Linked DNA regions of Homo sapiens: regions 1, 3 and 4 are each linked to region 2. Evidence: promoter capture Hi-C in 16 types of primary human blood cells and fetal thymus (Javierre and others, 2016). All regions are on one chromosome and are shown on one strand. The core of a region is centred on a gene start or on the middle of the fragment in contact, and the rest is flanking DNA. Distances in the headings are between cores, read along the strand shown. Region 1 overlaps TBC1D7-LOC100130357 (TBC1D7-LOC100130357 readthrough). Region 2 holds the start of GFOD1-AS1 (GFOD1 antisense RNA 1). Region 3 holds the start of NOL7 (nucleolar protein 7). Region 4 overlaps PHACTR1 (phosphatase and actin regulator 1).

What was found. The method cuts DNA at HindIII sites, captures the fragments that hold promoters and counts their contacts. A CHiCAGO score of 5 or more calls a contact.
Region 1: a fragment that was not itself captured here is called in contact with the fragment with the promoter of GFOD1-AS1 in region 2 in 1 of 17 cell types (monocytes); the score reaches 5.0 in monocytes.
Region 3: the fragment with the promoter of NOL7 here is called in contact with the fragment with the promoter of GFOD1-AS1 in region 2 in 15 of 17 cell types (activated CD4 T cells, erythroblasts, neutrophils and 12 more); the score reaches 15.9 in activated CD4 T cells.
Region 4: a fragment that was not itself captured here is called in contact with the fragment with the promoter of GFOD1-AS1 in region 2 in 3 of 17 cell types (naive B cells, total B cells and monocytes); the score reaches 5.6 in naive B cells.

Annotation. Positions count from the first base shown.
Region 1 is chr6:13,302,070-13,308,674 of GRCh38, reverse strand. TBC1D7-LOC100130357 (TBC1D7-LOC100130357 readthrough) reads left to right here. Exons shown (of 9, transcript NM_001318809.2): 6 at 930-1,075; 7 at 2,148-2,277; 8 at 3,488-3,613. The coding sequence ends at 3,574. TBC1D7 (TBC1 domain family member 7) reads left to right here. Exons shown (of 8, transcript NM_016495.6): 6 at 930-1,075; 7 at 2,148-2,277; 8 at 3,488-3,724. The coding sequence ends at 3,574. Among named protein-coding and RNA genes, the nearest start is that of TBC1D7, 23 kb to the left of the region's middle. RefSeq lists enhancers at 235-1,434, 5,525-5,574. The HindIII fragment of the contact is 4,796 bases long and covers 2,041-6,605 here.
Region 2 is chr6:13,484,777-13,491,963 of GRCh38, reverse strand. GFOD1-AS1 (GFOD1 antisense RNA 1) reads right to left here and starts at 5,703. Exons shown (of 2, transcript NR_046709.1): 1 at 5,511-5,703; 2 at 5,193-5,283. GFOD1 (Gfo/Idh/MocA-like oxidoreductase domain containing 1) reads left to right here and starts at 4,364. Exons shown (of 2, transcript NM_018988.4): 1 at 4,364-5,326. The coding sequence starts at 5,074. RefSeq lists enhancers at 3,313-3,442, 5,003-5,112 and silencers at 3,503-3,612, 3,993-4,372, 4,393-4,872, 5,013-5,176. The HindIII fragment of the contact is 1,067 bases long and covers 5,426-6,492 here.
Region 3 is chr6:13,613,568-13,620,604 of GRCh38, reverse strand. It overlaps NOL7 (nucleolar protein 7), which reads right to left and starts at 5,270. Exons shown (of 8, transcript NM_016167.5): 1 at 4,981-5,270; 2 at 4,833-4,893; 3 at 4,084-4,142; 4 at 2,804-2,835; 5 at 2,466-2,547; 6 at 276-397; 7 at 120-197. The coding sequence starts at 5,246. It overlaps SIRT5 (sirtuin 5), which reads right to left. Exons shown (of 10, transcript NM_012241.5): 10 at 5,447-7,037. It overlaps LOC124901263 (a long non-coding RNA gene), which reads left to right and starts at 5,403. Exons shown (of 2, transcript XR_007059461.1): 1 at 5,403-7,037. RefSeq lists an enhancer at 5,888-6,057. The HindIII fragment of the contact is 25,604 bases long and covers 1-7,037 here.
Region 4 is chr6:13,257,575-13,264,438 of GRCh38, reverse strand. The region is part of intron 10 of PHACTR1 (phosphatase and actin regulator 1); the gene reads right to left. Among named protein-coding and RNA genes, the nearest start is that of TBC1D7, 68 kb to the left of the region's middle. RefSeq lists enhancers at 5,776-6,276, 6,277-6,777. The HindIII fragment of the contact is 3,113 bases long and covers 2,645-5,757 here.

The DNA of each region.
Region 1 (6,605 bases), core at 3,189-5,688, 180 kb after region 2:
CATTACATTTGCTTAAGTGATGCGGGCCCTGGTTGTACTCCTGCAGATAGTGAGTGTGGACTTTAGGATTTGACTCTTAGAGCCCATTCTCAGCCAGTGGACCCTAAATATAGCAGCCAGCCTAAATATAGCAGCCAATGCAAGATGGATTTGGCCAGGTTTGGGGAGCTGGCTTTATTAGCTCTCCAGTCTTCTAGTGTTGGCTGCCACCTGACCTCATGAGAGAGGCTACCAAGTGGAATCCAGGTGCTTTGTTCCCTCTGAGTTATCCCTTGAATTCTAAGAAATTCTTGTGCACATTTATGTTGAATACAGAGTTCACCCTCTGGACATCCCTGTTGTGTGAGCCTGCTTGGCACTGGTGCACAGTGGTGCTCAATCCAGGGCAGTGTATGTATGGTCAGTGACTGGTCAGCCCCTTCTCATCACCATCACTTTTTGTCTTACTCTTCCTAATGCCCTCTCCCCACTCTAATCCCACTCTATTTCTTTGGTTTTACCTTTCCTCTTTCCCCCTTTTTTCCTTAGTATATAATCTGCTGCTCTAGACCAGCCAGTAATATAATGGGCCTTCCTTAGCTCCTCAGAACAACTGAATTTTGCTTTGGACTTTTGCCTTAGGCTGTTGAATCTGGCTAGTGAAGTTAGTATTAGGGTGACCAACCATTCCATTTTGCCTGGGACTGCCTCAGTTTTAGCACTGAAAGAGCCCTGTGTCCTGGGAAACTCCTCAGTCCTGGATGGTTTGTTACTTTAGTTAGGGCTGACCTAGGAAACTGCTGTGTCACAAGTGACTTGGATAATTCTGAAGTTTTGTTTTCTAATACTTCCTTGAATTCAGCATGTACTTTTTTTTCATCAGAGACTATAATATCAGATGATGTTATGACACAGAAAATGAATAATCTCTGTTCTTGCTTAATCTTTAGCCAAAAGCGTTTGAACAATACTTGAATCTGGAAGATGGCAGACTGCTGACTCATCTGAGGATGTGTTCCGCGGCGCCCAAACTTCCTTATGATCTCTGGTTCAAGAGGTGCTTTGCGGGATGTTTGCCTGAATCCAGTTTACAGAGGCAAGTAGGTCTTTCGAAGACATATTGAAGGCTTGGCGTTAGAGCAGAGTTCTGGCCTTTCATGTGGTCATCCCTCAGATTATAAATTTGCTTTAGAACAATACAGTAATTTGAAGCTCAGTCCTCCAGCAGCTACCGTAACAGCACATGATTCTGCTTATTCTTGAATATACAATTAGAAAAATTAAGGGCCCTCAGTGCGTTAGATGCTGTGAAGCAGTCACACCTCAAATGGTCTCCATGAGTTTATATAAGCGTCAGCCCCTTTTTTCCAGAAATGTGACAAATCTTCCTCCAGTAGAAATCTTAGTGTTAGTTTCATCATGATATCTTTAAAGAAGCTGAAAGCAGTCAAAGATTTGACTAAGTTCTTCCAGTCAGTTTCAGACATGTCTGGGTATTTCGGAGTCCAGGTGCCACCCATTAAGACTTTGTGATGTAGTAGAACAGTAACTCTTAAAATAAGTTATGGCACTGAACAGTGCAATACACAGAGAACATTATAAGATAATATGTAACTAAGTGTATGAAGTAGAATACCAACTTTTAGGAGTTACAGGAATGATCAGAATTATTATTTTAGAGTGGTTATAGATCAGTAACTGGCTCCTTACGCCCTTGGAGAAGTTTAAGGAGTCTGTCCCCAGAATCACTGGCAATGAAATTGAATTTATCCCATTTCATATACATCTTTTGTTGTCCCTTAGTAGGCTATAATTATATTAGCATTATGGCATATTAGCAGAATATAAACCATTAGTTTAGGATTTTCTTTTTCTTCCTCAGAAATGTCAGGTTCACAACATGAGGGAATATGATTTTGGTAGATTCCTAGTGGAGCAGTAATTTTTAGTAAACTTTCCTTTCTCCTTCTAGTGCTGATTGTATCTAGAATAGATTTCAAATGGCTTCTGTATTTTGTTGTTGTTTTGGTGATTATTTCATAAAAGTTGTTCTTTGAAGCTTTTACATAAAATTGGAGCAATTTGATTTTATTTTGTAATTTGAGATGTCTAGGCTAAACATAATTCTGAAACTCATATAATTTGATTATATCTCCTTATTTTTGTAGGGTTTGGGATAAAGTTGTGAGTGGATCCTGTAAGATCCTAGTTTTTGTAGCTGTCGAAATTTTATTAACCTTTAAAATAAAAGTTATGGCACTGAACAGTGCAGAGAAGATAACAAAGTTTCTGGAAAATGTAAGTGTGCTTTGATTTGATTTTGAATCTGGAAATGAAGTTACCTTAGCAAGTCAGATTTTCCTGTTACATTAGATTATTTCAGAGAAATAATTACATGATTTTAGAGAAATAATACCTTAGAATGTTTCAGAGAATAATTATAATAATGATTATTTTAGGGAAATTATTTAAGAGAAATAATAATTTGATTTGATTTTGAATCTAGAAATGAAGTCACTTTAGCAAGTGAGATTTTCCTGTTACATTAGATTATTTCAGAGAAATCATACAGTGTATTTTTACATTATAAGAAACACTTTTCCCTGAAAAAGTTTGGCCTAAAGTTGGCCTGAGGGTTAGTTTGCATCCTGTCTTTGGGAAATGATGGTCTGAGACCATCTCGTGAATGTGTCCACTTAGAACCAGAGTCTCATCCTCCATGTGACTATCAGCAGGCATGTCAGGAAAAGGAATAGGTGGGATCTGTCATTTTACAATGAGTAATTTTTGTCAGTTCAAAAGGGGTTCTGTATTTTGGAGGATTTTGTAAGCCATTTCATTTCTGTTACTGTCTCTGGTGTAGTCCCAGTTGGGTTTATTAATATACAGTATTAACCTAGTATATTGCTGAAAAAGGCAATGGTAATGAAATTAACTTTTCCCTCGCTATGTATCTTGGAATACCCTTTACCAGGCAAGAAGTAGGATTAAAGAGACTTATGCCTGAATGATTTTCACAGAATCCAAAATCTATTCATTTTTAAAATAGTATTAACATTTGAAAAATGGCCTGGTAAATTATAATAAAGTACTGAGTCAATATGCGTTGAATAAATGAATAATCATCATTATAACCAGAGGTGGCTAGCAGTGCGAAGCCTGTGCTAAGTATTTTCCATGGGTTACCTCATGTCCTACTGTGAACAGCTCTGTGAAGTCAGGCTATCATTTCCCCCATTTTAGAGATGGGGATCTGAAACCCAGGTAGCTTAGGTAACCTGCCCGGGGGTGCACAGTTAGTGAGCAGTGCAGGATTTGAACCCAGGCAGGCTGACACTGGAGCCCTTTCATGTCCTCAGGTAGCATGTGACGCAAGTCTTTTATGCTGTCACTTTCTGAAAAACAGTGCAAACTCCCATGGAAGTGGATTTCATGCCACAGCGAATGAGGGAAGACACTGAAGTTGTCAACACTGAAATTTCACAAAGACTGATTTGCTTGCCCACAGATTCCCCAGGACAGCTCAGACGCGATCGTGAGCAAGGCCATTGACTTGTGGCACAAACACTGTGGGACCCCGGTCCATTCAAGCTGAACGCACCCGCTGGTTGTGGACCGTCTGCCAGGCACCACAGTGAGCATTGTGTTCTTGGCATGTGATCTGGGAAACTGATTGAATAATACACTTTTCTTGCTTTGGTGCTCAAAGTGGTTTTTTTCCCCCAATAAAATTATTTAATTGAAATGCCTGGTGTTGCTGTGTTGGCGAGCAGCATCTTGCAGTTACATAGAAATGTAAAGTTCATCTCTGAATAGCATTTCAAAAGGGTTGTTAGAAAATAGCTCCCTGATTTTAAAGCGGTTTAGTCAGGGTGAGTGGGTGTGTTAACCAGCAGTGCATAACTAAGCCTGCCCTGCCTGTCTCTAATTAGCACCAAGCTAGTTACTTTCAAGGTCTGTTTCTAGAATAAGAGTGACTTCCTTTTGTTGACACCTCAGATTTGGCTTTTGTTGATGCAATACGTGTTTAAATCCAAGCCAACTGCCTTCTGAGGCTTCATCTTGCTAAACAGGCTTTAAACAATTCCTTACTCTTTTTTCTCTTTGGGCCAGTTGGAATGAAACCATTATTGAACAAAATGTGTTTGAATTGCTCCTAGGAGCAAGTACTTGTTGGATATTTTGCTGCACTCACATTTTTCTTGATGGGGTGTTAAATGTGGGATGTTAGGGTGCACTGTGCCACGCACTAAAGCAGTGAGAGAAATGGCCGGTGAAGGTGAACAGCTCATCACCCCTGGGCCACCTTGTGCCACGTAAATGGCATGGCCACTCTTCACTGGATAGTTCCCGGCTTTGGGAGTAGTGAGTGAAAGGGGACCCTTTGTTTCACACCGGTTTAGCCTTCAGACCTGCAAGAGCCTGAGTGGTGAGTTGGATTTTCCACCCACCCCCTAAAAGACGAGGGCAGCTATGAACTTATAGAGGTACAATTCTGAGAATTCAGGCCCTCCTTAGTGTGTGAAATATCTGTTGAAAAAAAGTTCAGAGAAAGTGTGAGCTGTTGAAATCTGCTGCTTCTGAATACTAACATATCCAAGAGTATTTAATTTTTTAAAATAAAAATGCACTCCAAAGAAAAACCTTTTAAAGCAAAATTGCTGCCTAGAGTTAAAATTTTAATAAAAAATGACTTATTGCCAACCATTTATGCCGGAGCCAGGCAGGAGCGCTGGTACTCTTAGGGAGCAGGAAGGCTTAGGGGCTGAAGTTCCTCTGACTTCGCTGCTTTGGCTGGAGGCCAGCTGATCTGAAACGAAAGACTCTTACTGTACTGCTGAGAGATCTAAAAATAAATATTCTGCAAGTATATTCTGTCAAACCCAGTTTGGTAAAACCTTTCTGGCTGTAGGGTGTGGGGCGGCGATTTTTTCTTGAAGTTAGTCAATCTGAGAGTTTTTATTAAAACACTGATTGGCGGAATGATTTTTTTAAGGCCCATCCTGAGAAAGTGGTGGATGGAGAGGATGAGCATCCAGTTTCGCTTCATAGCAGAATTTCACTTTGCTGAGAGCTGAGTGTTTTGAAAATGTTTGTGCCTGCTGTCTTGGGTGAGGAGCGCAGTTCCTGATAAAAATACATCCATATGCCTTTTCTTCAAAACATTTTGTCAGGATACTGCAGAATTTTTCCTTCATATATTACAACCCACGGTTCCTGTCACAGACTATTGCGGCTAAAATGTGAGATTCTTCCTCGCCCTTGGAAAGCTGGAATTTAACATGATCAAATTTAGTTTCTGCTCTTTCCCGTCTAGAGATTTGCCTTAAACACAGATGAGAGAAGATCTCAGTCCTCTTGGCCAGGAGAAAGGAAGGCCGAGGAAGGTTGGAGAGTGTGTGTGTGTTGGGGGTGTGGCTTTGGCCTGCTGACAAATCGAATGGATGGATTGCGTCGAGGTATAATTGTGTAGAGGATTGTGTGTACACAGGCTTGTGTGTCAAGGCTGTTTCAGGAAATGAGGTCAGGGTTCATGAGAATGAAGCACTTTCTTTGTTAATGGAAAGTTCGCCTGAAAATTATGAGGCAACACTGAAATCATATGATGCGCTGAAGGAGCTCCGAGGACCTTCTTGCACTGTAGCTCTGGGTATGACAGGCACTTGCCCTGTCTTGAATTGCATAAGTTTCCTGTCATGTGGTTATCACGTCCCTATGGTGACTCAAGGTTTTGGTGTTTTCTGTCTGAAAATGAAGAACCTGGAGGGAAGCCAGTGGGGATGAGGAGGGTAAGCAAAGAGCTTAGATGCCCAGGACCAGATCCTAAAATGAGTCACTGGCTCACATGGCCCAAGTGACAGCGCCTGCTCGAGCTCTGTGACCGTAAGCAGCAGAGTGACATCCCAAGTTCTCCAGCCAAGGCAGCCTTTGGGGAGCCTGGTGAGGGGTGTGGGGTGTGGACAGTGAATCTGCCCGGGTCACATAAGGTCAGCAGCCTTTGTCTTTAGCTGGGTGTTTTGGGTCTAGAAGGGCCAGAAGGTGCTTTCCTCTGCCCTTGACAGAGAGGGAAAGGAGTGTGGGAATTTGGGGAGCAGGAGTTGGTGGCATCTCCTCTGTTGGTGAAAACAAAGAGCCGTTTCTCCTTGAGACTGTGTGCCAAATGAAACTGTCCGTGGCTCTTGGCACAAGCCGTGGCTCCTAGATCAGCTGATGTTCCTCCAGAGCTGGCACCAGTTTGAGTAGGAGGGAGGGGTGATGGATGGCGGTGTGGAGAACAGAGGGTGGTAGTGATTTCTGGGGGACCACGGTGGGGGTGCTGGCCTTTCATGGCTTTCCCGACCAGTCGCCCTTTCCACTTTGGTCCCTCTGTCAGCCTTGCCTTGGGGAGGTTAAAAAGTGAGTGGACAGTTTCTAGATGAGGTGATAACTCCCCATAAGGGGAGCCCCCTCCCAGGGGCTGATTTTACTCCAGGACAATGACAAAGGGAGTTGGAGAATGTCATCAGAGAAGGACACACAAGAATCCTAGAAGCTCATCCTAAGCACAACTCCAAATTGAATGTCATAGCAAGCGCTTAAGGTTCACATCTCCAACTCATACCTAATACTGAGGTTTTCCTTTGCAG
Region 2 (7,187 bases), core at 4,454-6,953:
TAAATAAATTAATTAATTAATTAAAAAAAGAGGGTTTCACATGAAGAACTTGAAGAATAAGACTCGTCTGTGGGGACCATGTGCACAGGCACTGTGTGTGCAAAGGTCTTTATCATCAGAACCTCAGAATAGATGCATGCTCAGAGTTATCCTCCCATGCCCAGGATGGATGAAGCAAGACCTGCCTAACTAGTGAGGACACAAGTGCACGCCTAGCTTCTCCACTAGCCTCAAGCTGAGAAATGACGCCAACATTTTTTTACTCTCCTCCCATGTCCAATTAGCTGCCAGGCCCAGGAGACTTCATCTCTTTGTTATCTCATGATATCTCTGTGCTGGTATCTTCATTCCCATAACTGCCACCTTTCTTAGTCCTCTTTCCCTCACTCTGGGGTCACTGCAGTGGGCTCCCTGAAGGGCTGGGTCCAGTGGCCCCTCACGAGACACCCTCTGTACTGGAAGTTGAGTAATGGCTCTAAAACACCAATCTAATTATTCATTCTCCCCACCATGTTCTGGCCTCCGCATACAGCTTTCCACCTTGAGTTAGCCTGTTCATAGCTTTTCTCTGTCGAGACTATTCTCCTCTCTTTCTTCTGGCTAACTCCAGGAAGTCTTTCAAAACCTGGGCCCAGCCCACTTCTCTCAGTGCATGTCTTCACAGTCTTCCCATTCAGATTTCAGAACCCTCCTCTGCTCTCGAATCAACCCATGCAGACCAGTCTTATGGGTGCGTCATGTTGTGTTGCCATGGCCAATTCATGTCATCAATCAATGGGCTACCAGGCGTAAGCAACCTGGGGGCAGGGGCTCTGTCCTACTCCACTGTGCATCTCCATTGCATGTGCCATTCTTGCACACGGCACTTGGCACGGTTCTGATGACTTTATAAATATTAACTTATAACAACACATGATTGTTAGAGGAATGTGCAAGCATTCATTCAACAAATGGGTACTGAATATCTAGCAGGTGCCAGGTACAATTTTAGGTGTTGGGGATTCAGAAGTGAATGAGACACCCAAACTTCTTATCTCAGTGAATTTGTAACCTGTCAAGGCAAATGAATGATAAACAGATAGGCAGGCATATAATATAATGTGAGGCAGTGACAGGAGGTATAAAGAAAAATAAAGCTGGACAAAGGGATGAAATATGACAGAGTTGTCATTTTAGATGAGATGGTCAGGCCAGGCAGTCTGAGCAGAGGCTTGAGCAAAGTGAGCAGAGAGCCCCGTGGATTTGTGTGTGTATGTGTGTGTGTGTTGGGGTGGGGGGAATGGGGTGTCAGGCAAATGAAACAGCAAGTGCAAAGGCCCTGGGGCAAGAACAAACTCAGCCTGTAAAGAGCACAGCAAAGAGGCCAGAGTGCTGGAATGCAGGGTATGGGGAGGTATGCAATAGGCCTATGGGTTAGGCCAGGTAGAGTCTTTCAGGCATGCTGAGGCCTTTGGAGTTGATTTGAAGTGTGAAGGGTATTCACTGGCAGGTGCCAAGCATGACGGGTGATGATTCAACTTATCTTTTATGGGATCTATGGACTACGAGGGGCATCACTGGAAGCAGGTAGACCAGTAAGGACAGTGGTCCTGATAGTGATGATGGTGACTTTGACTCCCCAACCATGGCAGGGAGAGGTGGGCAGACTCTGGATGCATTCTGCAAGTGGAGCAGACAGGATTTGCTGATGGTTGGCTATAAAGGATATGAGGACCAGATGACTCCATGGCTTTTGGCCAACTGGTGAACTGGTGATTTTATTTATTGATGAAGGAGGAATGGCTTGAGAGTAAGGTTGGAAATGAAGTATTCTGTTTTAAACCTTTAAGTTGGACTTGCTAGCAGGACATAGTTTTGCCTTCTATGAAATGGAGATAATGTTTATTTATAAATTTTAATGAGAATAAAATGTGATCATTTTCTTTGATGTTATATAGATAGAAGGTCTCTTTTCTTTTTTAGAGAAAAGGTCTCCCTCTGTCACCCAGGCTGGAGTGCAGTGGCATGATCAAGGCTAGGCCCACTGCAGCCTTGAACTCCTGGGCTCAATCCCACCTCAGTCTCCCAAGTAGCTGGGACTACAGACACACAACACACCACCATGTCCAGCTAATTTTTAAATTTTTTAGGAAATGAGGTCTTGCTACGTCGCCCAAGCTGGTCTAGAACTTCCGGCTTAAGCGATACCCCTGGTTAGGCCTCCCCAGTCAGTGGGATTATAGGTGTGAGCCACCACAGCAGGCTTAGAAGGTCCATTTTTTATTCACACTCAAGCTAGGGGTAGAGTTCTTTTTAAAAGAACACAAACAAAACTCCATCTTATTACTTAGATATTGCTTCACTGTACAATGGTCTCTCTCATCAAGAAATGACATTGGTAACAGACCCATTCTCTATATTTATTTATTTAACATTTATATAGAACTTACTATGCACCATGCCTTATTCTCAGGACTTTGTAAGTATTAGTGAATACGATCCTGTAAAACCCCTTGTGGTATATACCATTATTACCCACCCATTTTATAGATGAAACTATGCCGCAGAGAAGTGATTTGCTCAAGGTCCCACAGCTAGTAAATGGCAGAGCCAGAAGTCAACGCCAGTGGCTCTAGCTGTGCTCCGACCACTACTGCACATCCTCTGCTCCCTGAAAGCCTGGCCATCTCTGACATGTGACAAGCCTGTGATGTATCCAGCCCCTTGGGTCTGACACCACTGCCTGCCCCTGTGCCCAGATAGGCGTTCCTGCCTTGGTTCTTACAAAACCCCTGCTCAAAAGAAGCCTGTTAGTATTGAGGGCAACACCCCTCTTTGTCTCTCAGTCCTCCCCAGGCTGCTGCCAGCCACCCAGCACTGTGTCCTTTGTGCCTTTCTTCTAATGCCCTAGGTCAGCCTCCACCCCGCATTGCCACACACAGCTTTTTTGGTATCCTGCTCTCTCCACGCGCCCCGCCTCACTGCCAGTTGTTACAAGTTGTTTTAAACTCTTGCAAGTATCACGTTTTCCACTCGTGTTGCGGCAGACCATGTGCTACATTGAGCCCAGTGCTGAAGACAGGAGATGAACATGACCTGACCCATGACCTCTCCAGAGACCTTCAGCTAGAAGACGTGCCTTTCACTTTTTAGTCCCCTCTCCCGGCACCAAATGGGTGCGAAGCGGGCATTCGATGAATATGCATACATTTATTTAGCAAATGTTTATTGAGCGCCTACTACATACAGGGCAAGGCAGTGTGCCAGGTGCCAAGGATATGGCGGAAAACCAGACAGACGCAGAGTCCCCATGGCTCCAGAGGTGCGGGGCCAGCCTTGGCCAGTCCTCCTCAGTGCCCCCTCGAGGGCCTGGGAAGGGTGCAGGGTGGTGGAGGTGGGGGCAAGCTGGGAGAAGTAAAGGCTGCGGTAAGTGGCGACGGCAACAGGAGCCGAAGCAAGAGGCGGGCGTGGCATGTGGCCAGGGCGACGTATCCGTCTCGAAACTAGACACGAGACGCACGTGCCGCAGCGGCCTCGGAGACCCCCTGCCCCGCTGCGGCCGTACACACCACAGCGTCTACGCGGGGGCGGGCATGGGCCTAGGGGCGGGGGAGGTGGGAGGCAGATGGGAGCCCGCCAAGACTGGACTGTCTTGGAAGAAGGCGGCTGAACCGTGCGTGCGCGGCCGGAGCGGGGGCGCGCGATTGGAGCAGGCTAGCTTGGAAGGAGACCGTAGAAGTCTGCGGTTCCGTGCCCAGACTCTGGGGCCTGGATTCCAATCGCAGGCCTGTTGCTTATATATGTCACCTTGCGCAAGTCCCTTAGCCTTCATTGCGGCTCATTCACATCACTGGTAAAATGGGTTTACAATAACCTTAGGTTGCTGCGAGGACTAAAAGGGACAATACCTGGAAAGGCGTTAGTATGATGCTCAGCACGCAAGAAACGCTCCGGGAGCCGAGGTTATTATTATCGGCTGTTCGCACCTCGCCGGGTCCCCTCACCTACCCCAGGCCAAGGCGCCCACTGCTCTCTTCCAAGGGACAGGCGACTAACCTATTAGGGCGCGTCCTGCCTAGATAGATGTATTTGCTTGGTTGGGGCGGGGTTTGGAGTGAAGCAGGGAAGAGAAGGAGATGGTGAGGGCAAAGAAAGGGAAGAAGCGGAGGGGCAGGAGGCGGGCGAGGCGGCCTGGGCGGGGCCGGGGAGGAGCCGGGCTGGGCTCCCGGGGCCCGGGCGCAGCGCGCACCCGGAGCTGGCGGCGGCGGGGGCGGGGGCGGCGCGCGGCGGCCAATGGCGCGCGGCGCTGCAGCGAGGGCGGTGCAGGAACACCGGCCGCTGACAGCCAAACTCGCCAACTCCGCCCTCGTCCCCGCGGGATCCCAGAGCCTGAGCCGGCCTGGGGCCGAGGCCGCCCGAGCCGCGAGGCGAGCGAACATGGCAGCAGAATGAGGAGGCTGGCGCCGGGTCGTGGCCGCCGCTGCCGCGCTGCAGCTCGGGATCCCAGTCCGGCGCGCTCCGGGCCGCATCCTTAGCCGGCCTCCTGGCGGCCGCGGGATTATTTCATTCCCAACGGAGAGCTAGGAAGAAAGGAGACTCCCCCGCGGAGCGGTTCCGTGCTCTGGCAGGGTGTAGACGTTTGTCTGTGCGATTCGCCGGCTGCGCAAACGACGCGGGAGAGAGCCGGTCCCGGGCTGCGGCGGCGCGGCCGCGGGGATGAGCCGGCCATGGAGCGGCCTTGGCGGGGCGCACGCAGCGGACTGGCGCTGCCGCGGGAGCGCAGCCTGAGCCGGGGCTCCAGGGGGCTTCGAAGCCTCCGGCGCCCTGGGGGGGTCCCTGCCGCCGACTCCGGGAAGGACGCGAGCCCCGCGTGGCGGACACTGCCGCAGTCACCGTTCTGAGGCGCCCCGAGCTTGCTCCGCCTGCAGCTCGGTGCGCTCTGGGCACCCGGGCGCCTTGCCCGGTGCACGGCGGCTGGCGCACCGCGGCTAGATTGGCTACAGGAGCGGGGTGCAGGACTGGCTAGAGGTGGGTGTGTGCGCGCGTTGGACTGGAGATCCGAGCAGAAGCAGAACCAGGCGGCTCTGAGCAGCCATGCTTCCCGGGGTGGGCGTGTTCGGCACCAGCCTCACGGCCCGTGTCATCATCCCGCTGCTGAAAGACGAGGGCTTCGCGGTGAAGGCGCTGTGGGGCCGCACGCAGGAAGAAGCGGAGGAGCTGGCCAAGGAGATGAGTGTCCCCTTCTACACTAGCCGCATTGATGAGGTGCTGCTGCATCAGGACGTGGACTTGGTGTGCATTAACCTGCCGCCGCCCCTCACCAGACAGATCGCTGTCAAAACCCTAGGTGAGCGACCCCTACCCCGCATCCTCCGTCCCACCCCCGCCCTTTAACCTTCTCTAGGTTCCTTCCCCCCTGCCTTTCCCTCTCCGCATCCCAGAAGCTTACCCTGCATCTACGCTGCCCCGGGGATCTGAGATCCCAGATCCGACTCAGAGCTCCCTCCTTCCTCGTCCCCGGCCTTCCCCACCTTTGCGCTTCCCTCCTGCCTCCTGGCACCACTTGGACGCGCTTCCCCACGTGTGTAGATTGCAGGCTGGAGAAGGCGTGTGTTCCGGGGATCCGAACTAGGAAGATCAGATGCCGATAATAGGGGATAGGGTGCTCCGCGAGAAGAGGAAAGTTACTCCTCAGCTGTGTGTGTAGTGTCCAAGTGTGTGTGTGTGGGGGGGGGGGATGGGGGGGTGGAGGAGGGTTGTGCGCGCGCGCGCCTGGGAGAGGCGAGTGCGCGCCCAGAAACGCCTGAATAAAAGGCCGCACACGTGTGTCGGGTTTTCTTGGGTGCGATAGAGGACCTGCCCTTCAGCAGCGGTGGCGCCCTGCTAGGGTCGTTTGTTTCTTTCTGCTGTGAGTTAGTTTAGCGTGAGATTGCAGATGTTACCATCGGCTGGAATTATTTCGTCTGCGCTGGAGGCAAGGACGGTGGGAGTGGTTGGATGGGGGTGATGATGTATTAGAATGTTTTCAGAGGCGTCATAGGTTAGTAAAGACTGATTTGGTAAAACCAGGGGGTTTTAACTTTTGACTGCAGCCTCCCGGGAAATGTCTTCTGCCCCAATTTGGAGTAATAGATTTTAAATTTTTAGGAGGATGGGCGCAGTAGCTCCAGAGGCATGGATGCTTTGCATGAGAAAAGGCCCTCCCTAATCGCCTTCAGGAATAGTTTCGGAAGGCACAGTGTTGACCCGTGGGCTGGAGATGAGTTCAGGGTGCCTCACCATCTGGTCCCTGCTCCCCTCAACTCCCAGGCAGTCTGAACAATCTCTGAGGACAGAGTAGCAGCCTCTCAGCCTATGCTCAGGGGAAAGAGAAGGGCATGTTTTGTTCATCATCAGTTCTTGCACGTAACCTAAAACAATCCCAGGAAGGTTGCTTGATCTTACAATTCCAAGAAAATGAGCAGCTCACCTTTGAAAGCTGAAGTTTCTATTGGTGAGGAAAAACACAAAGCTTATAACAAGAACAAAGCTTATAACCAGATGAAGCGAATAGTAGAACAGATTAGAAGGGAGGAGCTGCGAAGGAACAGAGACAACATCCAGAAACCAGCCGGAAGTTATGTAGTCTTGGAAAGACTGTTTTATTTGTTAAAAATAGGTATGGATTCAGGGTAGGTGAAATATACGTGTGTTTTAATTCTGTCTTCGAAGAGCTATGAACAGAATGTAAAACTCTTTCTCCATAGAAAGGCATTTTCATCAGGCCATTTGGCTATTGACTCAGATGCAACATCTGATAGAATTCCTAAGGAGGCTGCCCACATTGTCAGTTTTAATTGTCAGTTAATTTTATTAAGTGTCTGCCCTTTGTGGCCTGTTTCTTTGGCCTTGAACTGAATGCCATTGAACTGAATGCTAATATTTATTTTCTGTTTAATGGAACATGTATGTTGGGTGGATAACTCCCTTGTTTACATTGGCTCTTTGCATATCAAATATCTTATAACGATCTTATGGTATAATTCTATTAGTGCAATTTGTACAAAACTGGTCCCTGATGAGCCCTGCGTATACTGGAGAGCTTAGGACTGGTCATATCTGAAAGACCATGTTGTTAACATCGTTTCTCCACCATAAAGATGGCAGTTCCTGTCCTGGGTTCAGACCCACAGAGCAAACCTAGAGCAGGAGGGTGGCAATTTGGGGAA
Region 3 (7,037 bases), core at 4,021-6,520, 130 kb before region 2:
GTAACTTAATATATAAGCCATTATAAGGGGGAAAAGTATAATTATGAACTATCTCCTTCAAAAGAACATTATTCAACATATAAAGCTATTAGAGACAGGAGAATAAAGCTGGATCTTACCCCAAGCATTATTCAAAAACTGGACAGCAGCTCTTTTCACTGGTAACCTCTTGTTGGCAAGAGACAGGAACTTATTTACTAGAAAAGAAAGGTATTTATCATTTCACAGTTTTATTTGCAGTAAAAAGTGAGAAAAATAGTCCATAAAAAAATTACCAGTAGTCCTGTTGGTTCCTGGCCCATATAATGAATTATGTATGAAGGCTTGTGCTGCTTGTTGCCTTGAATCTCTCAGATCTTGGTCTTTTAGCCTTACGGCCAAGTAGCTTTTATTCTGGCTGTTGATCAATATAAAAGGTTAAATAAGAATTACACATGCTTACTTTCTTTTTTTTTTCTTCCTGAGACAGAGTCTCGCTCTGTCACCCAGGCTGCGCGATCTCAGCTCACTGCAACTTCTGCCTCCCAGGTTCAAGCAACTTGCCTGCCTCAGCCTCCTGAATAGTGGGATTACAGGTGCCTGCCACCATGCCCAGCTAATTTTTTTATTTTCAGTAGAGACGGGGTTTCACCATGTTGGCCAGGCTGGTCTCGAACTCCTGACCTTGTGATCCACCAGCCTCGGCCTCCCAAAGTGCTGGGATTACAGGCATGAGCCACCGTGCCCAGGCTACATGCTTACTTTAAAATATTTTTATCATTTGTCTCATAGTGATAAATGAAACTAATTTTATATATGCACAGATAGGATAAAACTAAATTACAAGGACTACAAGAAACAGACACTCATATTTTAGTAGAGCACATGGTGGTTTTGTTCATCAGTTGAACAATCAGCATCTCAGATAGATCCAACTGAAGAACTTGTTCCTGGACTTTTGTACTAAAATATACTAAAACCAAAAGTCAAAACATTAGTTAACAGGAAATTGTTCGGATACATGTAGTAAAAGAGAATTGACAGCATGATTTCCAAATCGATTGTGCCAAATAAGTTTTTCCAAATGAAAAGTCCAACATACTGTGATGAATTCCTCTCATGGTCTTGCACTTTGCTTTACATTTGTTTCTATATTTGATCTTGTGGCTAAAACACCGATTTGCAAGTAATGATTTGGACCACCAAGCTGTACTGAATGCAACTCAAATGAATGCCTGTGGACTTCAAGACAGATACTACAGACATCGTCCACAGTATCGGCCAAAATTCCAGTAACAGCAATAGGCACTTTCTCTGTGACTTCTGTAGACCATAAGAATAGAAGATAAGGCCATATTGTCAGGGAAAGGTTGAATTTTGTGAAAAATGACTCCTTTTGAAGAATTGCCATGACTGGCAATAGTGGTGAACAACCTTTCCATTGGAATGACTGTCTTTGCATCAGCACCATGCACCATAAGGGCTGGTGACTGGAGGAACATTCAGCAGCCAGAAAAATTAAACTGCCTGAATAAGAGTAGGCTGGCAAGTTTGAAGTGCTGACAGTAGGCTGCAGTGTATCTTGAAATAAACATCTATCTATTGGGAGAGGTGAAATGAAATTTTCTCAATAATAAAACCACTAAAAAAAAGTTTTTGAACTTAACCTGCAGGACCTGCAAAGACAAAGTGTTCAACTGATCTTTATTTTTTTATGAAAACCGATTTTTTTTTTGAGACAGGGTCTCACTCTGTCGCTCAGGCTGTAGTGCAGTGGCACAATCTCGCCTCACTGCAGCCTCGACCTCCTGGGCTCAAGTGATCCTCCCACCTTGGCCTCTGGAGTAGCTGGGAATACAGGTGCACACCAGCACGCCCAGCTTACTTTTTTTATTTTGTGTAGAGACTGGGTTTTACCATGTTGCCTAGGCTGGTCTTGAAATTCTGGACTCAAGCAATCCACCTGCTTCAGCCTCCCAAAACGCTGGGATTACAAGTGTAAGCAAACATGCCCGGCCCAAAATTGGTTTTTCCACAGAGACGACAATCTGAAATTACTACTAATTAAAATATTTTCCCGGCCGGGCGCGGTGGCTCACGCCTGTAATCCCAGCACTTTGGGAGGCCGAGGCGGGTGGATCATGAGGTCAGGAGATCGAGACCATCCTGGCTAACAAGGTGAAACCCCGTCTCTACTAAAAATACAAAAAATTAGCCGGGCGCGGTGGCGGGCGCCTGTAGTCCCAGCTACTCGGGAGGCTGAGGCAGGAGAATGGCGTGAACCCGGGAAGCGGAGCTTGCAGTGAGCCGAGATTGCGCCACTGCAGTCCGCAGTCCGGCCTGGGCGACAGAGCGAGACTCCGTCTCAAAAAAATAAAAAAATAAAAATAAAATAAAATAAAATAAAATATTTTCCCATGTTAGCCAATACTTTAACTCTCTTAAAGGTCTCCTTTACATCCCAAATGAAACAAAAGACTCATTACCTGACAGACTGTACTTTTTGTACTTTAACTTTCTTGGAGTCATTTCCTTTTTCACAGTCTTCATTTTTCTTTTGCAAATTAACTAAAAAATAGAGTTACATTTTCTAATTAGCATTCACGTAAAAATAAATCAGGAAATTTACTGGAGTTCACTTTAAGCATCCACTACACACCAATGTGGATGCAGTTTTTATTTGTATGAAATACAGGGAATAGGCCCCAGCTAACCTTGGCCAGGCCCATGCTGGCTTTCTAAGGGCCATTCATATTTGACTGGAAACATCTGCAAGTGCACTTGACACTTACATGAGAAGTTAGTTAAATTAGAATAGTCATACCTTCTTTCACCTTTCCTGGCGATTTCTTGATGCTAAGGAAAAAAAACAAAACCACTGACTGCAATGGCAGTAAAGATTACTCAAAACATGTTATATTATTTCATTTGCCTTTACAAGTAAGACACCCCCTTTCATTACCAACACCCTCAATTTCTACTCAGGAGCTCTCATCAGTTTGGAAAGCAATAGTCACTCCCTAGTACACTGCCACCAACTCTCAAGCATTGGAAGATCTTCACAGTTAAAATCTGAGAGCCTATTAGCAGGCTTTCAAAGCAGCAAAATGCTGTGGGCAATGGAGTTCAAGTGAAACACTTGTTCAGAACAAGTTATAAAGTATTTGAAATATGAAGTGAATGGGAGTAGGTCTGCCTCATTTCATTTGGAGAAATCACAAAGGATTAATTTAATAGTTTAGGCACAGGAGACAGGGAACAGCCTCAAGGGGGCTGTGGCCCAATGGAGAGAGAAATGTAAATGGACAGAATACAATACAGAAGCATTTGCACAGGAGAAAGGCCACACAAAAGCGGAAGTGATGGGAGGTGGGGGGGGGCAAATGAGAAGGTAAAGGTGACACTTGAGCTTGGTTTTAAAAGATGAAAGGGAATTTGCCACCAAATAGATTTGCTCTTACGTTTAATGTATTCAGGATCTGAGTAACTCTTTGGTAAAGTTTTTTTACTGAAAACTTGAGAGTCACTGGCCTAAGCAAAAGGGGGCTGAATTTCTGAATTTAAAGCCTTAAGGGGAGAAAAAGAGGATAGAAAAAAAAAAATTTAGAAGGCTAAATTTAGTAGGGTTTGATCAATTCCCAAAGACGACTATAGCTTTTCGCTTTAAACCATAAAACACCAAAGATGCTAAATGAAGTGGGGAACAGGAAGGACAGGTTGGTGGCAGGTAAGGCAAGTATGGGACAAATCAAGTTTTCAGAGCCTGTGGATAAGTGCCTGCTACCCCACTAAATGATTCAAAACACTTTTTATTCACCACCACCCACTATGCCCTAGTACAATGACAGGCAGTCAACAAAATGTACTGAATGAACACAATGGGATCAGGAATTCAAAAGCTAGCTATGGGAATGAACAAAAATAAATGGTAAAATAAGAAGTAGAACGTTACCTCCGTCTTTCCCATCAAATTCATATACCAAGGTAGCTTTTGAATTTGGGTTCTACAATTCCTTCAGTTATATGGATTCAAATAAATGTACCAGTATATAATTCAAAGATGGGTGTATATAAGCAAGTAATATAAAAAGATCCATTACTTACTTAGTCTGTGAAGCTGTGGTTAACTTCTCCAAAATAGTGTCTGGAAGGAGTTTTCTTTTCTTTTGGAATGAAAACGTTTAAAATTAATAGAAAGTCATGTACATAGTATGTCCGGAGTTGCTTCTGAAGTTACCGCTTTTAAGAATGCCCTACATCTAGGCAAAGAAATGAATTAGGCTGGAAACTGCCCCCATACCTCTAAGCTATGGGAAGACCGGGTCCACAAAACTCCACATTCTCTGAAAGACTTGATGAAAACTAGAAAGGGTGCCCACGGTATTCTAACCCTCAGGTCACTGTTATAAATTGAAAGCAGTTAAGTAATGTCTGCCTGGAGCCAGCTCTCTGTGTCGAGTATCAGACAGCAAAGCAACCATACACTAAGTCTGTACAGCCCTTACAGTTTACAAATCACCTCATTTAATTCTCACAGCAACCTCTTATTTTCAGTTGGTGGACACTAAAGGAGACGAACTTTTTTTTTTTGAGACAGGGTCTCGCTCTGTCGCCCAGGCTGGAGCGCAGTGGTGTGATCTCGGCTCCAGGCAGCCTCGACATCCCGGGCTCCGCCCACCTCGTCCAACTAAAGTACTGCCGCGCCCGGCCCGAGCATCTTTCCACCACTGTCAGAGGCAATCTTGGTGACTGTTTCCCCACTCCAATATCCTGCCAACCCAAATTACATCCACCATAGGAATTCTCCCTGAGCCGAGTTGTTTTAATAAGACACCTCCTCCCTAGCCTCTAACCTTCTGTTCGATGAACAGCTCCTCGCGTCGCTTCCTCTTCTCCTTCAGGAGCGTTTTATCCCTGGGAGGAAGGGTGATAAGTCAGCAAAGGGAAGGACAAGCGGGACGAGAAAGGGCGGTTCTCCCCGCCGGGCAGCGGGCTCCGAACCTGCGCACGGTCTCCCGCACTCGCCGCTCCTCTTCTCTCGCTTCCGCCTGGGCGCTGGCGAAAGTCAGCTCCTCCGGGGCCTCATCGTCAAACTCATCGTCCCCTTCCTCGTCTTCCTCCAGGGGCTCGGCGGCCGCGCCGCTGCTGGGCTGCCCGAGCAACAGCCCGTGCTCCGCCTCCTCCTCCTCCGAGGCCAGCTGGCCCTCGTCCACCATCGCCTCCGCCGACGCCGGGGCGCGAGACGCTCGCGGTCGGAGCTGCACCATGGCCCACGCAGCGCTAGACCGTCTGACCTCTGACCCGGAAGCAGCTACAAGCGGAGCGCAAGCCTACTTTCATCGCCCCCTGCAGGTTCGGAGGTCCTCAGGACGGGTGGGGCGCATGCGCGAAGGGAGGAAGGGCGTGGCCTGTAGGCAGTGGGCGTGTTTCTTTCCACGTGGCCAGCGCAGGCCGCCTTGGAGCCGGATGGACCCCACGGAAAATGCTCTGCCGGCGAAAGCGGCTGGCAATGGGGTTGATTTCAAGGCAGGGAAGAGCCATCGCGCTGCCCTCCTCGGCTGGGATGGCGAGACAGGGCTGGCACGGCTCACGCTGTCCGGTGCTCAGAAAACCGGTAATCGCGGGCCCGAGGCGCTGCTCGCCGCCGTTTTTTGGCCCTGGGTTCCGTCGAGTGGATCCAGCTTGTCAGTCTTTGTGTAGATTTGGCTGCGTTCGCTCCGCACTTCGGAGGAGGTGGCGTTTCATGGGAAGAAATGCGCTCTAGCAGATGGCCGCCGTGGCCAGTCAGCCCTGCTGCCACCGACGAAGACGCGGGCGACAGACCTGGACTCTAAAGAAATCTGCACAGACGTGCCCGGCGCCCTCGGCCTTCCCAGCTCCGCGGCCGCAGCGACGCCGGTTAGGATGTCGGCCCTGTGGGAGGGGCGCCCTTCCTGGTGCCGGGCCCTAACCCACGACCTGGAACAGCAGCTGGCCCGTGGCAAATGCTGAGCATATCTCCTGAAAGAATGGCTTCGCCGGTCCCTAGAGAATGCACCCGAGTTTTGTGGTATATACACATACGTACTTTTTTTCCAAGTATATTTTATTTCTTGGCAAACATGGCCCTTTGTGATCGCTGTGTTTCTCTCCTCCCATCCATTATACAACACTAAGTGATTCATCATTCTTTGAACAAATCAAACTGTTTCACACCTGCCATGCATTTGTACCGACCGTGCTCTTCCCTCTACTGCCGCAGCCCCCCAGGTAGAAGTCCTTTTTATACTTCAAAAATTCCCACCCAGGCAAATTTCAAGCACCTTACCCCTACCCCATCCCACTCTGCCCATCTCTAATTGCGCTGGTCTGAACCCGCACAAATGTCTGTGTAGTTTCTGCACTTCATAACAGCTTATATGACAGTTGCTCCAGCCATTCTGTGAACCCCTGAGGGGAAGGGCCAGGTCTTGCTAGTCATTTTATTTCTAATGTCTATCATCTGGTAGATGTTTAATAAATGCTAAGTTGAATAATTCTATCTTACACATATATTGTATTTTTAATTCTCTTTTCATGTCTTCTGTTTTAGAAGCAATTCTCAATTTAAAAACGACAAAACCAAATAGGAACAAAAATGATAAAACTTGAAAACAACAACAACAAAAAAAGCTGCTGAACCAGAGGTTCAGTATGAGAGGAATTGCAAAGAACAGTTTTGAAATCTCTAGGCCTTAGTCAGATAGAAATTACAAATCAAAAATATAATCAGACTCCCTGAGACACTAACACTAGGAAAATGAATAAAGTTAACTTGGAGCAGCCCAAGAACAAACTTATAAGTGCATGATGGTATTTTATGTGCAAAACTGCTTTATAAGTACTATAAGACTATTACAGGTATTACCAGTGCCCTCAGTGTAAACTCCTTGGCCCACCCATGTAAAGTGTACATCGAGCCCTCAGGGTCCCTGACTGGTTCTCCAGCCGCCCCATAGGCTATGAGCATCCCCGTTCCCTACACAAAGGACCACTGGGATTTATTAAAGGTTATGCCTTGCAATGCAGTACAAAGTTTT
Region 4 (6,864 bases), core at 2,952-5,451, 230 kb after region 2:
CCCAAATTTTATTTTTTTAATGGATGAAAATGGGGCATGTTTAATGGAAATAATCCAGATTAGATGGTGGGGGGTGGAGGGAGAAGCTGAATATATAAAAAGGGAAAGGCCCAATTGGTAGTGCATGAGTCCTGAGAAGGTAGGAGGGCTTGGGATCCAAGGGATGGAGGTAGCATTATTTTTGAGTGGAAGAAGAACAGCTCTTTACTGGGACAGCAGGGAAGCAGGACAGAGTGGGTTGCATGTAGATTTGCAATGTTCCGTATTGGAATTATAGAAGAGTTCCCAATTGATAGCTTTTGCTTATTCTTTCAAGTTGAGATACACTGAAGATGACTTATTTTAGTTTAAAATTTTACCATTCACTGGGAGATTTGTCTTTGATCAGAGACAAATTCACAAACCCAAAGCATAAAGCTCCAGCTTTGGAATTCTAGTCATCAAAATTTTCGGGGGACACCCAGGGCATCTTGCCATCTTCACCAAGCAAAGCAGCCATCTGCTTGGCTCATTTTATGATCGATGTACCTGGTGCATCTCTTAAGTACTGGTTAACATAGAAAGCTGAGCAGCAGAGCACGACGACGTGGTCACCTGTATGAATCATCCCAAGGAGCTGCTAACTCCAAGAATCAAAGTCAAGATGCCTCCTGAATATACTGTATCTCCTTTGCTCCCACCTTGCCAGTAGATTTAACTAGTTGTATCTGATTAAAACTAACATTAAATTAAACAAAATTCCTGACTGTATATCTAAACGTGATCACTTTGCTAGGTGTCAAAGGCAATGATTTTTGGAGATAAATTTTTACATAAAATGAATCATCCAAAATTAAATGTTTAATGTACTTTCAAGGGATCTTAAGTAGCTTTGCTACTATATATGTGACCCTGGTTTATAAAATATGTCTGAGCAGCAAAATGGTTTCCATGCCTCAAATGGTTTTTTCTTTACCATGGACTATGGCTAAATGATTCAGTGAACTGAAAAAATCTCTGGGTTCCTGTTTAAATGCCACATGCTATCAAGTGCTGTATGTGAGCCTTCTATTTTCTTTAAAAATTTAAGAATGGATCTTGCCTTTTTTTTTTTTTCAGTCTGAACAATGCTGTCTCTACTGGTGACCATAAGAAATAATCAAATAAATTGAAGTTTTCTTTTTGCATGGAAAGACTGAAAAAAAAAAAAAAAAAAAAAAACACTAAAAGCCCAAAATAAAGGACACTTCAGTTTTGACCTTGGAAAAAGAAGACTGGTAGAGAATGTAGTGGCAAGATGCTTTAAATGTATGCAGAGCAGGCAGCATTGTCTTTGCACATTACAGCATCTCCCTAGAGAAGTGACAAAACCCTTGTAGGTTTTGTTGGTCTGACTTGTTGAGGCTGACAGAGATTAGTTGTGCTGCACAGAGCTAATGGGCTTTCTGCCGTTTCCAGAACACCAAGGTCACAGCTTTCATTAGCATTTACAACTGCTTATTGTTTTGAGGGCCTTGATTTTAAAGTCTGGATCTCTGAAACTGTATCTGCATTTCAGGACAAAGGAAAAACAGAATTAACTTGGGTTTTCTGCAACTCAGCACCAGAGAAAGGTAACTGCATTTTCAGACAGATGGAAAGAGGAAATGCAAAAGTCCTCACAGAGAATGACAGAAAATAAGATCCTCTCTCCAAAAGTAGGAGGAGATGGGGTTTTCTAACAGGTATCCAGAAGTGTAGATGGGCTTGGTGGGATCAGGGGAAAGGGAGAAGCACTGAATTCTATCCCCTCTACATCCTTTGGAAACTTCCTCCTGAGAACCTATGAGTTCCATGAGGATTGGGGCATTTCTGTCTGGCCTTGGTTATTACTACATCCCCAGTTCCTAAGAGAGCATAGAGAGCATAATAGATGCTCATTTAGTAACTATTTAACCCAGATCCCACCAGTTCAGATGCCACACATGCTCCTTGGATGATCTCATCAACACTCATGACTTCCAATAGCATCAATATGCTGATGATTCCAAAATCTAAACCTCCAGTCATATTTTTGAGTTCCTGGCCACCTTTCTAACTGCTGTCTTGTACTCCTATGGGCCATCAGACTTAAAGGGTCCCAAATGAATTAACTCATCTTCTTCCCCCATACATCTTCCTCTCCAAGTGGTCTTGTATGGAGTCCTAGTGAGATGCCCAGGCCATGAAACTGGGAATCATCCTGTCTGAACTTCACTCTTGATGGCCAATCAACCACCAAGAGTCCTATATCCAAACCATCTCTGATTCCATCTACCACCACCTTGGGGAAGCAGTCCATCAGCATCTCTCCCAGTTGCTGCCAGCCTATCCCACTCTGGTCCTCCTCCAGCCCATACAGAATGATCTTTCTAAGGGACCGATCTGATCACACCACTCTGTGCTTGAAAAGTAAGTATGCCTTTACAGTGCTCACAGGACAGAGTCAAAACACTCAGTGTTCTGAAAGATTCTTCATGATCTGGCTACCTGCCTGTCAAGAATCTGCCCATTCTGTCCTTCACCCAGAATGATCTCTTCTTGGTTCCTTCCAGATTTGCATGCCCTTCCTCATAGCCTTACCATTCTTTTCCTTCCTCTTTGTCTGTCTAACTGACAATAATCCCTAACGTTACAGCTTAAAGCTTCAGTATCACTTCCTCTGTCTGCAAATCTCTTGGTTTAGGTGTCCTACAGTGTGCAACAATATTCCTGCATGTTCCATACCCCAGTGCTTGTTTTACTTTCTTTTATTGCCTGTCCTATTCACCAGACAACAAGGCTTACACTCTGTGAGGCCAGGGCCACCTCTGCCTCACTTAGACAACCAGGGATAGCTTCCTGTCCATAGAATCTGAGCAGGTGCACAGAACACCCTCCTACTCCACCCCTGCACAGAAGGGCTTCCTGCTTGGGGTTTAATGCTCTGTTGCCATTTCAAACTTTTCAATATTTTTTTATCTTTTGAACAAGGAACCTCTCACTTGTTCACCATGACATCTGCAGAGCCTAGCACAGAGTCTGGTAACTGGAGATGCTTAATGTTTGTGAAATAATTAAATGGATGCTACTTGGTGACTTTTCCTTACCTTTAACCTTTACCTCTTTCTTGGTTCTTTCCTTAGGGCAAACAACTGTATTCTCCATTAGAAATAAAACTCTTTAAAACAACAACAAACGAACAAAGCTGTCCTCCTACGCCAGCCTCTTCCTCCAGCTCACCCCTCTCACCTGTCTGCTCTTGGCTGCCAGACCTCTCGAAAGGGTGGTCCAGGCTCGAGGTCTCAGTAACTCTCCAGTCTGGCTTCTGTTCACACAGCTTTACTGTGCTGGTTCTCAGCATGGGTGATTTTGCCTCCTAGGATGCATTTGGTAATGTCTGAAGTTATTTTTGGTTGTTGCGATTGAGAGGGTGCTGTTGGCATCCGGTAGATAGAGGCCAGGGTGCTAAACATCTTCCAATGCATGGGACAGCCCCCACCACAAAGATCATTCAGTCCAAAGCATCAACAGTGCTTAGGTTGAGAAGCCTTGCTCTACTGAATCAATTCTTGATAAGGTCATCGATGATTCAATTGTCTAATCCAGTGGCCTTTTGGAGCCCTTATTTTACTAAACCTTTCTCTATTATATGATACCTTTGACTAATAGTCTCATATTTCTCTCTTAATATTTCCTAATTCCTGCTACTCAGCAGATCTCAGGTGTGATAAAAGCCCAGGGGTGCCCTATCCTTCAGAGTGGCTTTGGGCAGTATGATGCATGCCAGTCACCAGCTTGGGTCAGCCTGCTGTTTAACAAGTGTGAGATCTTGAATGAGACGGCATTCCTCTCTAAGCCTCAGCTTTTTCATCTCTGTGCGATGGAACAAAGAGAATACTTTAACTGCCAGTCCTGGTCAAAATTCTTAGTATTTTAGTGCTAAGAAGGGGCAGAGGAGAAGTTGGGAGGCGGGGAGGACATAGCTTGGTTGTTTTACTCCTCTGCTACCAGCCTTCCACCGCCTGACATTGCGCTAAGAATAATGCTTGAATTCACTCCACACCACAGCCTGGCCACAATGCCTCATTTACCTTCACTCCCTTATTCACAGTAGGACAACCCAGTAGCACATTCACAGTTTAGGGAAGCTGAGATGCCTCCTCTGATTCTACCAGGCAGAGGTAGTAGTTCTGTCTATGGAGTTCCCCATCTTGACGATGGCCTTATCCATTACATTGGTGATACCTGCGTACATGAAGATCTTCTCAGTTGGACGATGAATGCTCCAAAACCACCAATTACATCTTATTTATCTCTGTGTTCTTAGTACTTAGTACAGCAGCTGGCACATAATAGGGGCTCATTTGATTTTTTATGTTAAACAAATTAATAATCTCTCGCCCCTGGAGTTGTGCCCATGGGATGAATGAGAATGCTGGGCGTATGGGAAGGCATTCCTGCCACAGAAGAGGGGCTGCTGGGAGGGCTGAACAGCAGTTTTGCTTTTATTCCTCAGTACTATGCCCTTTTCTCTCTGCAAACTGAGCAGAACAACTCTTAATACTATTGATCCGCACGCCCAGCTCTTCCCAGGCATTTCCATCAATGATTTTCAAATTTCTGTCATTCCCCTTAAGCTAAGAACAGTTAGCCTGGCTAGAGGAGAGAGCACAGAGGGGGGAAGATGAACTGGGGCCCTGAGGCCCGCATCCTGGCCTGCCTGCACCACTCATCAGAAGGTCCCTTGAGCACATGACATCTCCTTACCCCTCCATGCCCAATTTCACTATATGACAAATGGTCATAATGACATCTAGCCCGCCTGCTGTGTAGGACTGTCAGGAGGATCAAAGGAGAATTAGATGTGAAAGTCCCTTTTAAAAATAAGTACAAAGCATGAAATACTATTTTTGGTAACTTGAAAAAAATCCCTTACCTGAAATAGATAAACAGGTTACGCTTAAAAGAATATTTTTGGCTTTATTCTCTGGAGGCTATGACCCCAGTGCAATGGCCTGTGGCTAAGATGAGACACTGAGATAATAACCCAAAAAAGTATTGTAATATTGCTGGTCATGTTGAGTGGAAATCACTTTTGGAGTAATGATGGGACTGTGTGTATTACTAGGCATCAAATCCATTGAAAAACAAAACAGTGAGACGGTTGAGAGCCTGCACAGTGAACATTTTCAGTATTATTAGGATTATTGGACATAAACCCCATGTCAGGATGATTCCACTTTGAAAGAGTATCTGAGTTGTTATAACAGAAATTAAGGTAGTTAATTACAACAGAAATTAAGACAGTCATTTCAACAAGGCTATTTTTACAAGAAGAATCCATCAAAATGAGTGCCAAAACATTGTGATGCCAAAAAGCTAGGAAATACAGAATAAAAGACAAATGTCCAGTGCTCCACCACTTTAAAGTGACTCAGGAGATTTGGTCACCTTTAGCTTAACTCCTCCAACCATCCCTGCGTGTATTATGTGCCAGAAATTGGGCTAGGCTTTCAGTTAGAGCTATATATAAAAACAACATCAGCAAGAATGACCACGCACAGATGATTTAAAAAGCTCTGCCATCAAATATAGACCATGTTTTATCTTTTGCTATTAGCTTCTCCTCACACCTTAAAAACTAAAATTTAGCCTTTGCTTTTCCCTGCTCCTTTCCAATAAAGAGCTCTACCAGGTACCTTTGGCAAAAAATGAACCTTCTTTCTAGGAGCACAAAGCATTTTTTAAGTAACCCTCTGTCAGAGTCTTCAAGAAGCTTAACATGATCTGATCAAAGGAAAAGACTGAGATTGAGGCAAAACTGGTGCAGGGCCACCACTGCCAATCATCACCCTTCACGAGACTAGTGGGAACAAAAACCACACTGAACTTATAACTTCAAGCCCATTGCTGGTCCTCTTGCTACAGCATTTTGTCTCTTTTCCTGATCTCTGCCGCTTGCCATGGTTTCTATGTCAGTGGTTCTCATTCCCGTAGCACCTTAGAATAACCTGTGTTACCTTAAACCTGGGCCACATTCTTAACCAATTAAATCAGAATGTATGAAAGTAGAGCTTAAGCACTGTTTTTTTTTTTTCTTTTTTTAAGACGGTGTCTCTCTCTGTCGCCGAGGCTGGAGTGCAGTGGCGCGATCTCAGCTCACTACAACCTCCGCCTCCCAGGTTCAAGCAATCCTCCTGCCTCCCCCCTAGAAGCTGGAATTACAGGCACGCGCCACCATGCCCAGCTAATTTTTGTATTTTTAGTAGAGACGGGGTTTCATCATGTTGGCCAGGCTGGTCTCGAACTCCTGACCTCAGGTGATCCATCCACCTCGGGCTTCCAAAGTGCTAGGATTACAGGCATGAGCCACTGCTCCCAGCCTGTTGTATTTTTTTGTTTGTTTGTTTAAGCTTTGCAGGTAATTCAAACCTGCACTGAGGATTGTGAAGAATCCCAGGTCAGTGCTTCTCACAGCGTGGTCCCCAGCGTCAGCATCACCTGGGTGCTCTCTAACCTGCAAACCACTGGGCTCCGGAGCTACTGAATCAGAAGGTCTGAGAGTGGGGCACAGCCATCTGTGCTGGTTTTACAAGCTCTCTCCAGGAGATGCACGTGCATGCTAAAGTTTGAGAACAACAGCTCTAGATGCTGTCATAAAAGGTTGAAGGAGGCTGCTTCAATAGGTGGGTGGACATGCAAGCAGGTAAGGTTAGAGAGATGTGAAGATGTGGAGACAGCCTGCATATGACTCTACTGACAAGACAGAGGTCACTGAGCAATAAGGAAAGAAATAGCATGCGCAAAGTGTCAGCCTCCATCTACAAGGGAAAACGTGAGATTTGTGTTCTATCCTGTGGAAGTAAGAAGATCCCAGAGGAGTCA